Regions from separate parts of the Homo sapiens genome. Here regions 2, 3, 4 and 5 are each linked to region 1. Evidence: promoter capture Hi-C in human tissues and cell types (Jung and others, 2019). All regions are on one chromosome and are shown on one strand. The core of a region is centred on a gene start or on the middle of the fragment in contact, and the rest is flanking DNA. Distances in the headings are between cores, read along the strand shown. Region 1 holds the start of CHST11 (carbohydrate sulfotransferase 11). Region 2 overlaps C12orf75 (chromosome 12 open reading frame 75). Region 3 overlaps WASHC4 (WASH complex subunit 4). Region 4 overlaps ALDH1L2 (aldehyde dehydrogenase 1 family member L2). Region 5 overlaps ALDH1L2 (aldehyde dehydrogenase 1 family member L2).

Evidence for each region. The method cuts DNA at HindIII sites, captures the fragments that hold promoters and counts their contacts. A contact is called where the count stands out against the background at its distance.
Region 2: a fragment that was not itself captured here is called in contact with the fragment with the promoter of CHST11 in region 1 in 1 of the 25 tissues and cell types used here (aorta).
Region 3: a fragment that was not itself captured here is called in contact with the fragment with the promoter of CHST11 in region 1 in 1 of the 25 tissues and cell types used here (IMR-90 fibroblasts).
Region 4: a contact is called between a fragment that was not itself captured here and the fragment with the promoter of CHST11 in region 1, in 1 of the 25 tissues and cell types used here (lymphoblastoid cells).
Region 5: a contact is called between a fragment that was not itself captured here and the fragment with the promoter of CHST11 in region 1, in 1 of the 25 tissues and cell types used here (bladder).

The regions. Positions count from the first base shown.
Region 1 is chr12:104,455,414-104,458,364 of GRCh38, reverse strand. CHST11 (carbohydrate sulfotransferase 11) reads right to left here and starts at 1,417. Exons shown (of 3, transcript NM_018413.6): 1 at 836-1,417. The coding sequence starts at 953. RefSeq lists silencers at 99-238, 829-1,108, 1,149-1,318, 1,399-1,528 and enhancers at 629-678, 1,599-1,678, 1,699-1,748. The HindIII fragment of the contact is 13,105 bases long and covers 706-2,951 here.
Region 2 is chr12:105,363,034-105,365,984 of GRCh38, reverse strand. It overlaps C12orf75 (chromosome 12 open reading frame 75), which reads right to left. Exons shown (of 6, transcript NM_001145199.2): 3 at 143-178. Among named protein-coding and RNA genes, the nearest start is that of C12orf75, 34 kb to the right of the region's middle. The HindIII fragment of the contact is 8,128 bases long and covers 1-2,951 here.
Region 3 is chr12:105,115,050-105,118,000 of GRCh38, reverse strand. It overlaps WASHC4 (WASH complex subunit 4), which reads right to left. Exons shown (of 33, transcript NM_015275.3): 5 at 2,772-2,817; 6 at 2,273-2,340. Among named protein-coding and RNA genes, the nearest start is that of WASHC4, 8.8 kb to the right of the region's middle. The HindIII fragment of the contact is 4,793 bases long and covers 1-2,951 here.
Region 4 is chr12:105,056,764-105,059,714 of GRCh38, reverse strand. ALDH1L2 (aldehyde dehydrogenase 1 family member L2) reads left to right here. Exons shown (of 23, transcript NM_001034173.4): 10 at 1,495-1,642. Among named protein-coding and RNA genes, the nearest start is that of ALDH1L2, 26 kb to the left of the region's middle. The HindIII fragment of the contact is 4,090 bases long and covers 1-2,951 here.
Region 5 is chr12:105,035,868-105,038,818 of GRCh38, reverse strand. ALDH1L2 (aldehyde dehydrogenase 1 family member L2) reads left to right here. Exons shown (of 23, transcript NM_001034173.4): 18 at 617-716. Among named protein-coding and RNA genes, the nearest start is that of ALDH1L2, 47 kb to the left of the region's middle. RefSeq lists a silencer at 1,629-1,708. The HindIII fragment of the contact is 5,954 bases long and covers 1-2,951 here.

The DNA.
Region 1 (2,951 bases), core at 168-2,667:
ATTCCCGTTGCTCGGATCCCAGAAGTGGGGGATGCAAACGGACGGTCAGCCCAGGACCTGGCCAAAGTTTCCTCCAAAACTGCAGTGGTCAAGGCGTGACCCAGGAGCTCGGAGTTTCCAGCTCAGGGCTGGGGGCTGGAGCAGGCCCCGGGGCACCAGCCGCAAGGTCACTGCGGAGCCGGACCCCGGGGGCAAACGGCCGGCGCGTGGTGGAGGGGCAACGCTGGGCACCCGACCACTCTCCACACCTGCTCAGCTCTGCGCGGAGCCCGGGACACGTGGGAGCCCAGTCCCGGGCTCCCAGCCTGCTGCAGGGACTCGCAACCTCGCCGGGGCGTACACCCTTCGCCCCCGGCCCGGCAACCAGGAAGAGGCGGCTCGCCCGGGCGCAGAGCAGCCGGCTCCGGGTAACTCTTTCATCCTCCGACCTCGGCAGCAGCAGGGAGGGAGTTTCGTTCTCCTCAAACCAGCCCCTCACCCCCGGTTGCTTCCCACACCTCTCCGTTTCCCTGCTACCTCGCAGACAGACAGACAAGGGACACAAAGAAAAAAAGAAGAAGAAAAAAAAAAAAAAAAAAACTACCGCCCCTCCTGGTCCCATCCTCCAGCCCGGAGCCGGTAGGAAGAAGAGGGCGAAGCACACCTTCCCTTCTCCTCCCCATCCCGACGCGGTGACCCGGGTAGATCTGGGCAGCCAGGAGCTCTGGGCAGCCAGGAGCCCCGAAGAGGCCGAAGGCGGAGAGGTAGGGTTGGAAGAGGCAGAAATCAGGCGGAGCGAGCTAGAGCGCGAGAGAGAAGAAAATATCCAACAAAACCACGCTAACGCGCCCCCTACCTGGGTGCAACATACTTTGGAAATAGAAGATGACCAGGATAAAGGATCCCAAGCAAGTGGCCAGCACCATCCGGCAGATTCTGTTCATCCTCATCACTTCCAGCAGCGCTGGCTTCATGGCTTTGTCCTGGCTGCGGGGACCGGGGTGTCCGGGAAGCGCGCCCGGGGCGCAGGAGCAGGGACCCCGCCGCGCGGACCGGAGCCCGGGAGGCGCGGGGCAGAGCTGAGCAAGGCTCAGAGGGAGGATCGGAGTCGCTTCGCGGCCGCTCTCGGAGCCCCCAGCCCGGGCAGGGGTGTGGAAGGTGCCGGAGTTGGTCTGGAAGTGCTGAGATGCGTGGACCCGCTGGCTGCGCGCTCCTGCTCCTCCTCCTCGCCGCTCCGCCGCCTCCTCCGATCCCGCCGGCGGCCGCCGCTGCCTGGTCGCGGGCCGGGCGGCTGGGGTGCGAGCGGTGATGGTGGTGCCGCCGCCGCTGCCGCTGCGCTGGCCGCTGTGGCTGTCCGACGGGCCCTCTCCCTTCTCTCCAAAGGCTACTTCATTGCGCTCCAACGATCTATATATTCCGGGGCTGGGTTTTACCAAATGCAACTCGCGGCCCCCGGCGAGGGGAGGGCGCCTGCGGAGAGCCGGGAGGAGGGAGGGACCCTAGCGCCGGGGCGGAGCGTCGCGCTCCCCCCGCCCCTACCCGGGATATGGTCGCGTCCAGCTGTTGCCCGGGGAGTGCGGTGTGCGCGCCGCGCTCCCGCAGGGTCCCAAAAGCCCTCAGTCCCCGGCCGGGCTCGGCCGCCGTCTGGAGGTTGTGTCAGCGTTTCCATGACAAAACCCGGAGGAAAAAAAGACGAAGAAAATCGCCTCGGTGCTGCCACCCACCCCCGCCAGCGTTTGGAGAGGGAAGTGGCAAGCAGCGGGCTGGGTCTCGGAGGGAAGAATTAAGGGTTAGGGGGTTTCTGGTGGCTGGCAATTATTTAAAATCCCTGGGCGACGTAGCGGGGAAGTTGCCCCAAACCCCCAGGGAGCGAGTGCCCATTTTCCGACGCTCAGAACTGGGCGGTTTCGTTTTTCTTTCAAAGGACAGCCCAGCTTGGGAGTCGGGGTTAAAGAGGGCTGACTTAAAGTCAGGGTTAAGGAAACTGCACGACCCTCGGGTCAGGCGACAGCTGAGCTTTCCCGGGGACTTATACAGACAGAATCTCTGACACCCACCATCACCACCATTCCTCAAGGCAAAAGGGATCTGTGGGTTGCAAAACTCTGCTACCCCAAAGGGTAGAGCATCCTCCAAATTATTCAAAATTAACAGCAGTCTTAGCTGGGAGGGGGTGAGAAAATGCCCCTAGGAAGCCACCTCAACCAAGTCCAGAAAACTGCTGGAAAAGCCAAGCCAGCCATAGCACTGGCAGGTACATGGAAAGATGGTGCTGCTTTCTTGTATTGTGTAGAATGACTTCCAGTTTCCAATTCCATGCATTTAGGCTGTTTCACAATCAATAAAGTGGACACAGCCAATAGTGTAGGGATCACTCGTATGTCAGGGAAAAAAAAAATGTTAGTTAGACTAACCTTTGTGCCTTATCAAGTCATTACTAATTCAATTAAAAATGAAATAAGATACTGTGTCTTTCAATGCCTCTCACAAAATAGGCATTTGATAAATTCTTATTGAATCTGAATGTAATGGGCCTTATCCTCCCCTCGATAGACAGAGACACAACTTGCAGTTAGACACATGCAACAAAAACCACCTGGGCAACCTCAGTTCCCTTCCCCCAGAGTTCTCCTCCAGCAGTTGCATGGTGGGGAAAGTAACAAACTCAGCAGCCTTGCCTTTGATTACAGAAGACAATCAAAGCACAATATTTATGTAGCCGGTGTGCGCTGTATTAATTTGGACTTACCTGTGAATAAGTTGCTTGCTCAAGGAAGCCAGGCTGAACAAGCTTCAGACAGAGTCGTTCTCCAGTGATTCTTCTGCTCTGGTGATAGGAGATCAGGAATGGGAGTTGCACTGCACCCTCCCCACCTCCCCACCATCATCACTAAGAAAGGGGATTCCTTGCAGAGGGCATGGCTTAGATGGGCATTTGCACAAAGCCTTTGCCTGGAATATAAGTCTCTCAT
Region 2 (2,951 bases), core at 238-2,737, 910 kb before region 1:
ACCATATGCCCCTACCTGTATTCTCTGTGCCAACAGTTTTCCTGGCAGAATCTGTGTTATTGGGAATATGCTACAGTGTGTTAAATCCATGAGGTATGGCCAAAACCATTCAAACTAAAGCCAGCTGCAATACCAAACATACCTCCTCTTGTCATCTTCTGTTACGGATTCTTCTGTTCTAAAAGGTCAGAAACATTTGCTATGAGACACTTGGTTACATAGTCGGGGACTTCATTTTTGGTTATGAGAAAAAGGGACTACTGAGTTGAAGTCAATTTTATTTCAAATGTTTCCATCAGACTTAAGTAGAGGAGCAAAACTATCCATCAAGTGTTTCTGTGACAATATTCTGCCTTCACCTCAATCATTCATACGTTAAAACTTGGTAATTTTCTACAAACCAAAATGTGTGAATCCAGCAAATGCCAAAATGCACAACTGCCAAATGAAATGGAAAACTGAGGGCAGCTGAAATTGGAAAGAAGCCTGAGTTATCGTCTTGTGTGTACCACCCACTCCCTGTGTGACAGACAGGCTGTGGGCGAGCTGCCAGCCTGTGTCTCATTTGTAAAATAAGCTGGTTGACCAGATGACCCCTCAGGTCTCTTCCAGTCCTAATACATGGTTTTAGATCTCTTATGACACTTCAGTGGCACAACTATAGGTACTGAAAGACTTCTTCAGTGCAAAAAGAGTTAATGCCTATTTGATTTTTTTTTATCTAAAAACATGAGCCATTTCATACATGATCTACTGCAAAGAGAGGGAGAAATATTTAAAAGGATACATTTAGAGGGGATCACTACTTTAAAATGCACAGCTTCTCTCCTTGCATTAAGAGGAATCCAAGCTGGACATGGTGGCTCATGCCTGTAATACCAGCACTTTGGGAGGCCGAGGCGGGCGGATCACCTGAGGTCAGGAGTTCGAGACCAGCTTGGCCAACATGCTGAAACCCCATCTCTACTAAAAATACAAAAATTAGCCAGGCATGGTGACGCCTGTAGTCCCAGCTACTCAAGAGGCTGAGGCACAGGAATCCTTGAACCCGGGAGGTGGAGGTTGCAGTGAGCAGAGATCACGCCATTACACTCCAGCTTGGGCAACAGAGGGATACTTGGTCTCAAAAAAAAAAAAAAAAAAAAAAGGAGTCCATATTCTACCAGAATTCCTTGGCGTATTTCTAAGAGAATCAGGACACTTTCCTTGAAGCACTAGTTGGCATACATAAGTTGCTTTTCTGAAAGAAAAAAAAAATAATTCAACAAGATTCCAATGTATCTGGCTGAATTCAACTTGTAACACTAAGGGGCTTCAGTTGAGCAAAAAGCAGACTGCAAACATCTAAATGTCATTGACTCTTCTGATTCAGAGATTGTCTAACTATGATTTTACCCACTTAAAAGCTGTGAATATTTCAAATGTGACTGTATATGTGCATGAGATTTTTGCTTTATTGCAACAGCCAGTAAGTCCAAGTCTATAAAGAAGGAAAGTGTAGATTTAATAATTATCTGGTGAACGCTGGCCATGAACAGCTAATACTGGAAGAGAGTGCAAAATCCATCTTGAGACCTAATTCATCCAAACTGAGCATATAACCTAAATTCACTAGATGGTTATCAGCTTCATTTACCTCTTAACGCTGGATTGTTTTTTTAGTTCAAGTGTCAAAGTCATACTAATGGTGTTATGCTTATTGATGTGGTATAAGAGAGAGTTGTTCACTACTTTTAATTAAAATGGATTTATAATCCTTTAGCATAGATAATGGAGAAATGATGAGGACAAACTCGTTCAAGGTAAGTTCTGATAAGAACTGTTTACTTTGGTCCTGAGTGATTAACTTTCTCAAGAAATCACTTGAATCTGTATATAACTGGTAGCTTATGACACACATTTCCGGCCATGACTATTCTTTTCACATCCATTTACATATCCGTTTATTTTAATTCTTTCCCCTTTTGCTTAACTGTGCTTAAGGATATATTCAAGGTTTTAAAATATATTTTCACTTTCCCAAATGTAAGAAAATAGTCATTTACTTTCTCCTGTTAAATTACTCAATATCTTAAAACTCAATCTGTGTTCTCCATTATAAAATTAATCAACAACCTTACATGTATAACTGGCAGGAAATGATAATGTAGTTGCCATATTTATTGGATAATAAATTAAGCTTCAGATATAATGCCAAATCTTAAAAAAAATACTACCTATAAAGACTTATAAGATGTCCACTCTTTTTTTTTTTTTTAATTAAGACAGAGTCTTGCTCTGTCACCAGCCTGGAGTGCAGTGGCACAATCTCGGCTCCCTGCAACCTCTGACTCCCTGGTTCAAGTGATTCTCCTGCCTCAGCCTCCCGAGTAGCTGGGATTCCAGGCCCGTGCCACCATGCTCAGCTAATTTTTGTATTTTTAGTAGAGACGAGGTTTCAACATGTTGGCCAGGATGGTCTTGATCTCCTGACCTCGTGATCCTCCCACCTCGGCCTCCCAAAGTGCTGGGATTACAGGCTGAGCCACCCCGCCCGGCCAGATATCCACTCTTTTAAACCTTCCAGTAAGTTGTAAAGCCTGTCTTTGCATACTCACTCCCATGTATAAGACTGTCACTTCATCCATTCCTTCCACAAACAGTTATTCTACAACACTAGGACTAGAGACCAGGACTCCGTGGGTATAATGGTGTCATTCATGAGTCTCTCCTGTGTGTCAGGCACAGTGCAGGACACTGCACGTGCATCCATGCTATTCCTCACAACAGCTCTGAGGGCCTAGGCCTGAGGAACCAGGTGCAGAAAGCCATGTAATTCATAAACATACAAGACTAACAAGCATGACCAACATCCATACCCCATCCATCTGGCACCAAAGCCATGCTCCATTCTCATTCACCACTCTGCTTCTCAGGTAGAAAGATGTAAAAGTCAAAAACACTTCCTGTGA
Region 3 (2,951 bases), core at 316-2,815, 660 kb before region 1:
CCAGAAGTCACTGTAAAATAACTTCAAACACTGATCACCTGTAATCGTATGTATAAGCAGGCTTGGCACACAGCAAGTGAAATGTCGTATCACTTATCCTAGGGATATGTTTGTCATTAAATAATTAGCTCATATCTAACATATCCTAGACTTTCTGAAAATCCATTTTCAGAAGCTCTCAACTTTTAAACCTATAGAAACAGTGTGTATCTGAAGTATTTAAAACCTAATTAAAACTATGCTGATCTAAATTTTAAGCTCTATGAGAACAGGAATTTCTGTTGGTGTTGTGCATTGCTATATCACCAGCACCAATAACAGTTTCTAGCATATACTAGGCTTACAAAACATATTTGTTGAATGTTTAAAAACGGAATTTTTATGCAGCTGTGAGATCTAAATATGATGTAAAGTATTTTTTAAAATGAAAATAAATAACGCATTTTATTTTTAAATAGTTATAGTTTTACATGTCCTATTAAACTTCTAGAAGTTTAAAAAAAGCAGAGAAAATGTAGGACAAACAGAAAGAACAAAGTAAAAAGGCAGAAACAAGCCCAGATATACATACAGACTATATAAGATAGACCTAGAAACAGAATAAATTAAGCGATTAAAAAACAGGTATTGTCAGACTACATTAAAAAAGCAAAATTTAGATATATGTGGTTTTAAATAAACCCAACTAAAACATGACACTGAAAGGCTGCCAGAATGGAAAAAGATAAATCAAGAAAATGTTAACTAAAACGGAGCCAGGGCAGCATTATTATTATACTGTCAGACAAAACAGACTTGATTAGCATCAGTACAGTAAATTGCTATGCATGTAAAATACATATACATAATCATATACACATAATCATGATCATAGCTAAGGAAGGTCACAAATGATGATAAAAGATTCAATTTACCAGGAATGATTAACAATTCTAAACTTGTACACACTGAATAAAATACCCTCAAAATGAAAAATGCAAAGTTTCCACATTTACTGGGACCTTACCAACTACATTTTTTAGACACCTTGCTGGAAAAGAAGCCAGCAGCAGATAGGCAGTGCCACCTCAGCATAGGCATCAGTTTCATGGGGCTTCTTCTCCAAGCTCCCAGATCCTGGCAATCCCAATCTTTATCCTTTTTGTTCTCTGGATGTAAAGGAGGTATCTGTTTCCTTTGGACTACACCTCAGTATTTTCTTTGTCCTCCAACTCCTGGGTAACCAATTCTCTATATTGAATCCCCTCTCTTCTTATTTAAATACATTTTATTGTGTATATTTAAGGTATACAACATGTTATGGGATACATACCGATAATAAAAAGGTTACTATAGTCAAGTGCAAATCCATCATCTCACATAGCTAACCCATTTTTTTGTAGCAAAAGCAGCTAAAATCTACTCAGCATGAATGCCATATACGGTATTTTATTACCTGTAATCTTCATGTTGTACATCAGATCTCTAGACTTACTCATCTTACATATCTGCTACTTTGTATCCTCCAAACTACATCTTTTGAAATACCTTGTATGGAGTTTTCTAGACAGGACCCTGAATAACACATATCACAATATGAACAAAATGCTCTCAATTAGATCAATTAGACCAAAAAAAGTAGTAAAGATATAAAAGATTTGAACAGTATGTTAGCATGCCTAATTTGATGAAATATATCAAATCTTGTACTCAACAACAGAAAGGAGGTGGGACTATGGGTATTTTTTCCTTAGCTTCAATTTTTGCTTTTTCACATCGTACATGCACTATTTTTATCACAGAGGAGGAAATAGAAGCCATTTTATTCTTTTGATAAGAGTAAACCAAAGGACCTACAATCATTAAAACTGGCAGTGATGAGAAGCTATCTAAACTGAAACAAGCTGTTAGAAGCATGGAGGGCTACCGCTTTAAACAACTTCATCATTGCTCATGTAATAGCTTAATTCTCTCCTATCCGTTAACAACTTTTCCTGATACAATTTATCTTTTCCAGTGGGTACAAAGTTTAAATTATTTTAAAAGGCATGGTGACAAGTTGTCCATAAAGAAATATACACAAAGAAACTTATTTTGATAGCTTTTTCCTCTAAAAATACTTGGAAATCTTTTAGGAGTTATGATCTCCTAAACTATAATCCAATGCTAATTAAGTGTCTTATCCTCAGAGTACACATCTTTAGTATTTGAAGGTTTCAGAACTTTTTACGTGTTGTGTAATTTACTCAAACTTTTTGAAGTAAAAGCTCAGTAGAAAGTAAAAATCAGTTACCTGTAAGAATGAAATAAATCTCCCCATTTGAATTTGGCAATCACCTTCCACCATGCTGGCATCTGTAGCTGTAAAAGGCAACATGAATAAGCATATTTCATTTTTTAAATTTAAACTCAATCAATACCAAAAAAGGGGGAAAAGTTTTTTTTTTTCATTAGGACATCTTTTACTCTGCATAGTATTGAAAACAGAATTTTTACACCAAAGAGAAAAATCAGACAATCATTAATCAAATAATTAGAAGTATTTGCTTCACTATTTAATGAATTCAAGGAAAATTCTCATCTACCTACAGTACTTCGTAAAGTACAAAGATATCACAAATTTGCTGCTGCTTCCTCAGCTTTTTTACCTGTTTACCAAACATACCAACAAAAAATATGAATACTTATTTTTCTCACACTATTATATAATCATAGTAGTCCTAAAATTGTCTGTTAACTTTTTGTTCATTTCAATATCAAAAAGGCATCACAATTTGGAATTTTAAACTTACCTCCTTCTCCATAAAACAAGAGACCATTGTAAAATTTAGTTTCAGCCTGTTTTTAAGAAAAAAATTAAAATAATTTTAAAGGTTGTTTTGTTTCCAAATTCCTATGCTCTCTTAGATCTGTATACTTAGTAATAAACAGAGGGCTACATCATTTGCATACAAATTCATTTAAATTCAAAA
Region 4 (2,951 bases), core at 266-2,765, 600 kb before region 1:
GTTTTAGCACTGGGGATACAGTGTAAACTAGACAACGTCCCCTTTATTCATGGAGGTTTTATTCCAGAAATCAAAAACAATCATTTCAAGAGCACATAGTGTTTTCAAAAGTCAAGAGTTTCGGCTCCTCAAATTATAGATTTCTCAGCTGTGATTCATGAGTTCCCAGAAACTTCTAATTGGCTTAACTAAATATTTCAATACTACATTATGATGATTATTATTACAGATAGGGCCTCACTCTGTCGCCTAGGCTGGAGTGCAGTGGTGTGATCACAGCTCACTTGCACTAGCAGCCTTGCACTCCTGGGATAGCCATCCTTTCATCTCATCCTCCCTACTAGTTGGGATTACAGGCATGAGTCATCACACCTGGTACATCACACACAGTACTGTATTATTATTATTATTATTATTATTATTATTATTATTATTATTATTATTATTTTGAGACAGAGTCTCGCTCTGTCGCCAGGCTGGAGTGCAGTGGCGCAATCTTGGCTCACTGCAACCTCCGTCTCCCAGGTTCAAGCGATTCTCCTGCCTCAGCTTCCCAAGTAGCTGGGATTATAAGCAAATGCCACCACGCCCAGCTAATTTTTGTATTTTTAGGAGAGACGGGGTTTCACCATGTTGGCCAGGGTGGTCTCGATCTCCTGACCTCGTGATCCACCCGCCTCGGCCTCCCAAAGTGTTGGGATTACAGGTGTGAGCCACCGCACCCGGCCAGTACTGTATTATTAATACTTTTTTTTTTGCTAGCAAGATACTCCTGCAGGAATTACTCATTTTCTGTTTGAGTGTCTGGCTTACCATAATCATCTGATATTATTATCTTGATTACAAAGGTATCATCTCTTTTAGAGAATAAATGATTGAACCACAACCATGGTGGACTTTCTACACTGTACCTCGTACACCACTGCTATTCAAGAAATGTCAGATAACAGCTGTAATTTGACAAACTAACAGTGGAAATCAAAGGATTGGAAAGGACTTCAAAAGTTATACTGACCTACTGCATATGGTTCTAGCTAGTACCTATGTTAACTACGTAATACAAACAAATGTCCATCTTATACTTGTAATTTAGAGAAAATAGTCTACAATATGACATTCATCTCTCATAATCTTTACAGTTAGGAAAGTGTCTTTGTTTCTTATTCCCTGAGTATATATGAAAGGAAAGGAGTTGACTTTATATGATCCTTGCTACCTTGCTTATAAGTAATTAAAATATTTTTGCCTTGATTGCTTTTATTTTTAGTCATGGATAAAGTTTTAAAAAACTGCCACTGTCCTTCAAGATATATTTTTAATTTCTTGCCCCTAGTCTTATCAATTTCTCTGATGAGTATCACAGAAGATCTCATAGGATATAAATAGGCATGTGATGTAAGTCTTACCTCAAAACAACTTGACAAGTGCAAATAACACAATCTTCCTAACCCCTTTTAAAAATCTAAGTAACGCGAAGCTGGTTTTTACTTTAAGGCTGGTTGAAGAGATCAGACAGAAATGTGGTGGGCTTCAGTTGCAGAATGAAGATGTCTATATGGCCACCAAGTTTGAAGGCTTTATCCAAAAGGTCGTGAGGAAACTGAGAGGAGAAGATCAAGAGGTGGAGCTGGTTGTAGATTATGTAAGCTTTTCCTTGATGTTGCAACCCTAAATCAGTGAGATCCATACACTATAAAAGACTGCTGTGCCTGTTGCCCATTTGTTTTTATATTTATGACCTTTAAAAAACAACAGCTTTACTGAGATCTAATTCAGATGGCATAAAATTCCCCTTTAAAATGTGCATTTTGGGTAGTTTTTAATATATTCACAGGGTTGTGCAATTATTATGCCATCCAATTTTGGAACATTTTCATCATCCCAAAAAGAAGCCCTGTACCCATTGGCAGTCATTCTTTACTCTTCCAGGACTACCTCATACAAAAAATGTTCCAAAATTGGATAGCATGATAGTTCCTAGAAAATGCTAACCTCTTTTCTGTCTATGGATTTGCCTATTTTAGAGATTTCATATAAATAGAATCATACAACATGTGGCTTTTTGTTTCTGGCTTCTTTCTCTTAGCATAATGTGTCCAACGTTCATCCATGTTGTATCATCATTTCATCCCTTTTTTTGGCCAAGTAATATTCTATTGTATAAGTATACCACAGTTTGTTTACCCATTCATCAGTTGATGTACATTTGGGTTGTTTCTACCTTTTGGCTATTATGAATAATGCTATGAAAATTCATATATAAGTTTTTGCATGAACATATGTTTTCAAGTCTCTTGGGTATGTACCTAAGAGTGGAATTGATGAGTCATATGGTAACTCTATGTTTAACTTTTTTGAGTAACTGCCAAACTGTTTTCCGAAGTGGCTACACCATTATGTAATCCCACCAATGTATGAGGGTTTCAACTTCTCCATATCCTCGCCAATATTTGCTCTCATCTGTCTTTTCTCTTTTAGTTGTCCTAGTGGGTGTAAAGTGGGATCTCATTGTGGTTTTCATTTGTATTCCCTAATGACTACTGATGTTGAGCATCTTCTCATATACTTATTGGGCATTTGTATTTCTTCTTTGGAGAAATGTCTGTTCTTTCAAATCCTTAGCTCATTTTAAAACTGGCTTGTCTTTTTATTGCTGAGTCTTAAGCGTCCTTCGTATATTTTCGATACTAGATCCTTATCAGATGTAAGATTTGCAAATATTTTCTCTCATTCTGTAGATTTGCTGAAAACTTTGAGTGTCCTTTGACACACAACAGGTTTTAATTTTGATGAAGTCTAATTTATCTATGTTCTTTTGCCACTTGTGCTTTCTTGTGTCTTGTCTGACACCTTTTTATTCCTCAATTTCTCCCTCACTGCTTTCTTTTATGTTAAATATGTCTAGTATGCCTTTTTAATCCCTTATTTTTAATTTAACTGTATTTTTAAGC
Region 5 (2,951 bases), core at 334-2,833, 580 kb before region 1:
TTTTTTTATTATGGAAAATGTCTAATACATAGAAAGCAGAAAAGCAAAATGAATTTTATGTACTCATCACTCAGCTTCAATGGTAATCACCATTCTACCATCTGTTTTATCTATGAATAACTTTTTCCTTTTTCTTTCTTTTTTTCTTTTTTAAGAGACACGGTCTAACACTGTCACCCAGGCTGGAGTGCAGTGGTGATCACAGCTCACTGCAGCTTTGAATTCCTGGGCTCAAACGATCCTCCTGCCTCAGCCTCCCAAGTAGCTGACACTACAGTCACACACCACCATACCTACCTAATTTTCTTATTTTTTATAGAGATGAGGTCTTGCCATGTTGCTCAGGCTGGTCTCACACTTCCGGCCTTAAAGGATCCCTTCTACCTTGGTCTCCCAGACAGTTGTGAGTCACTGTGCCTGGCCTTGAATAAGTTTCTTAATATTACTGAGGCTCAATATGTTTTCCATGCCAGGTGGTAACTTATAGCTTAAAAAGTGTGTGTGTGTGTGTGTGTGTGTGTGTGTGTGTGTGTGTGTGTTTGTGTGTGTGTGTGTGTGAGAGAGAGAGAGAGAGAGATGTTAACTAAATGCTCATTTCTCATTTGTTTTCCTCTAGCTGTGCTGTTAGCAACTTGAAGAAAGTTTCCCTTGAGCTTGGTGGCAAGTCTCCACTTATAATATTTAATGACTGTGAACTTGACAAGGCTGTGCGAATGGTAAGAGAGGGTCAAATTTAAGTAAATAGGTGCCTGGGCCAGGTGAGGTGGCTCACGCCTGTAATCCTAGCACTTTGGGAGGCCAAGACGGGTGGATCACTTGAGATCAGGAGTTCAAGACGAGCCTGACCAACATGGTGAAACCCCGTCTCTAGTAAAAATGCAAAAACATTAGCCGTGCGTGGTGGTGGGCACCTGTAGTCCCAGCTACCCGGGAGGCTGAGGCAGGAGAATCTCTTGAACCCAGGAGGCGGAGGTTGCAGTGAGCTGAGATCACGCCACTGCACTCCAGCCTGGGCGACAGAGTGAGACTCCGTCTCAAAAAAAAAAAAGAAAAAAAAATAGGTGCTTGCTTCTAAAACACATTTCACCTCCTTTTTTATCAGAGATCTTAAATGAGATTTGGGTTTTGTCTAGTCATAAATTAAAACCATTGTTTTTATGCTTAGATTTGGGAATACTCAGAGCACTTAGTTTTTAAAAATAATGTCTTTATAATTCCTCTACTAAGGTGTTTTTAAAACAGGATATGAGTCATAGCAGGCATGTAAAAAAGTTCAAAAGATATTCTATTAGGGCTTCTAGCTTCTCCCTCCTTTCCCTACAACATCTCATCCCATCAACCTGAACAGTCCTACTTTTACCTGTTTTGCACATTGAGCTTCTGGTAAGCGTTTTAGACACAACAAAGGGTTTCATATTTAACAAGTAATTAGCAACATCAATTTCCTGGTTTTAACAATGTACTATGGTTTTATAAGATGTTATCATGGGGGAAGTTAGGTAAAGGGCACAAAGGAACTCTCACATTATTTTTGCAACACCTTGTGAGCCTTAAACTATTTCAAAGTATAAAGGCTTATTTTAAATAAAATGTAAAGGTTAAAAAAAATTGGCCTAGTTCTCATTCTTCACATCTGAGATATAGGCATAAAATGAGTCAATGCTCGGCAGGGGTTGTGCTAAGCTTTCTTGTAATTGTGGGGGAAACTTATGGTCTTCTCAGTTCTGTACAACTGTCCAGCCTATGCACTAAGCAGACTCTGTTCACCATTGGCCCTAAATGTAATTATAATGAACACTCACAGCCAAACTTCATCATGTAAGCATCCCAAAGAGAATGGAGTGGTCTGGGAGTGAAGAAGAACCAAGTACCCCTGCGGCCAGGGCCTTTGAATGGACCATCTGGAGGTTTCAGTGACAGACAATGGCTGGGGGTACTCAAACTGATATCAGGGGTCAGGACTCCCCTGGATGTCTGGGTTAGGAATATATAACCTTAAAGAGTCTGTTTTAACCATTTAAGAACCCCAAACCCAAGACAGTCAACATATTTTTGTAATGTTTAAAGATAAAATGTATGCACAGGAAAAGCATGGTATTTCAAAGCATTCATTATACTTTGTTTTCGAGATGGGATCTCACTATGTTGCCCAGGCAGGTCTTAAACTCCTGGGCTAAAGTGATCCTCCTGCCTTGGCCTCCTAAATGGGTGGAATAACAGGTGTGAGCCACTGCACCCAGCCACATCCATTTTATATATATATATATATATATATATATATATATATATATATATATATATATAAAATATATATATACATATATAAATATACGTATATATGTGTGTGTATATACACACACACATATATATGGATATATATAATATATACACATATATAAATATACGTATATATATAATATATATACACATATATAAATATACGTATATATATAATATATATACACATATATAAATATACGTATATATAATATATATACACATATATAAATATACGTATATATATAATATATACACATATATAAATATACGTGTATATATTATATACACATATATAAATATACGTGTATATATTATATACACATATATAAATATACGTGTATATATTATATACACATATATAAATATACGTGTATATATTATATACACATATATAAATATACGTATATATATAATATATATACACATATATAAATATACGTATATATAATATATACACATATATAAATATACGTATATATATAATATATATACACATATATAAATATACGTATATATATAATATATATACACATATATAAATATACGTATATATATAATATATATACACATATAAATATACGTATATATATAATATATATACACATATAAATATATGTATATATATAATATATATACACATATAAATATACGTATATATATGTGTGTGTGTA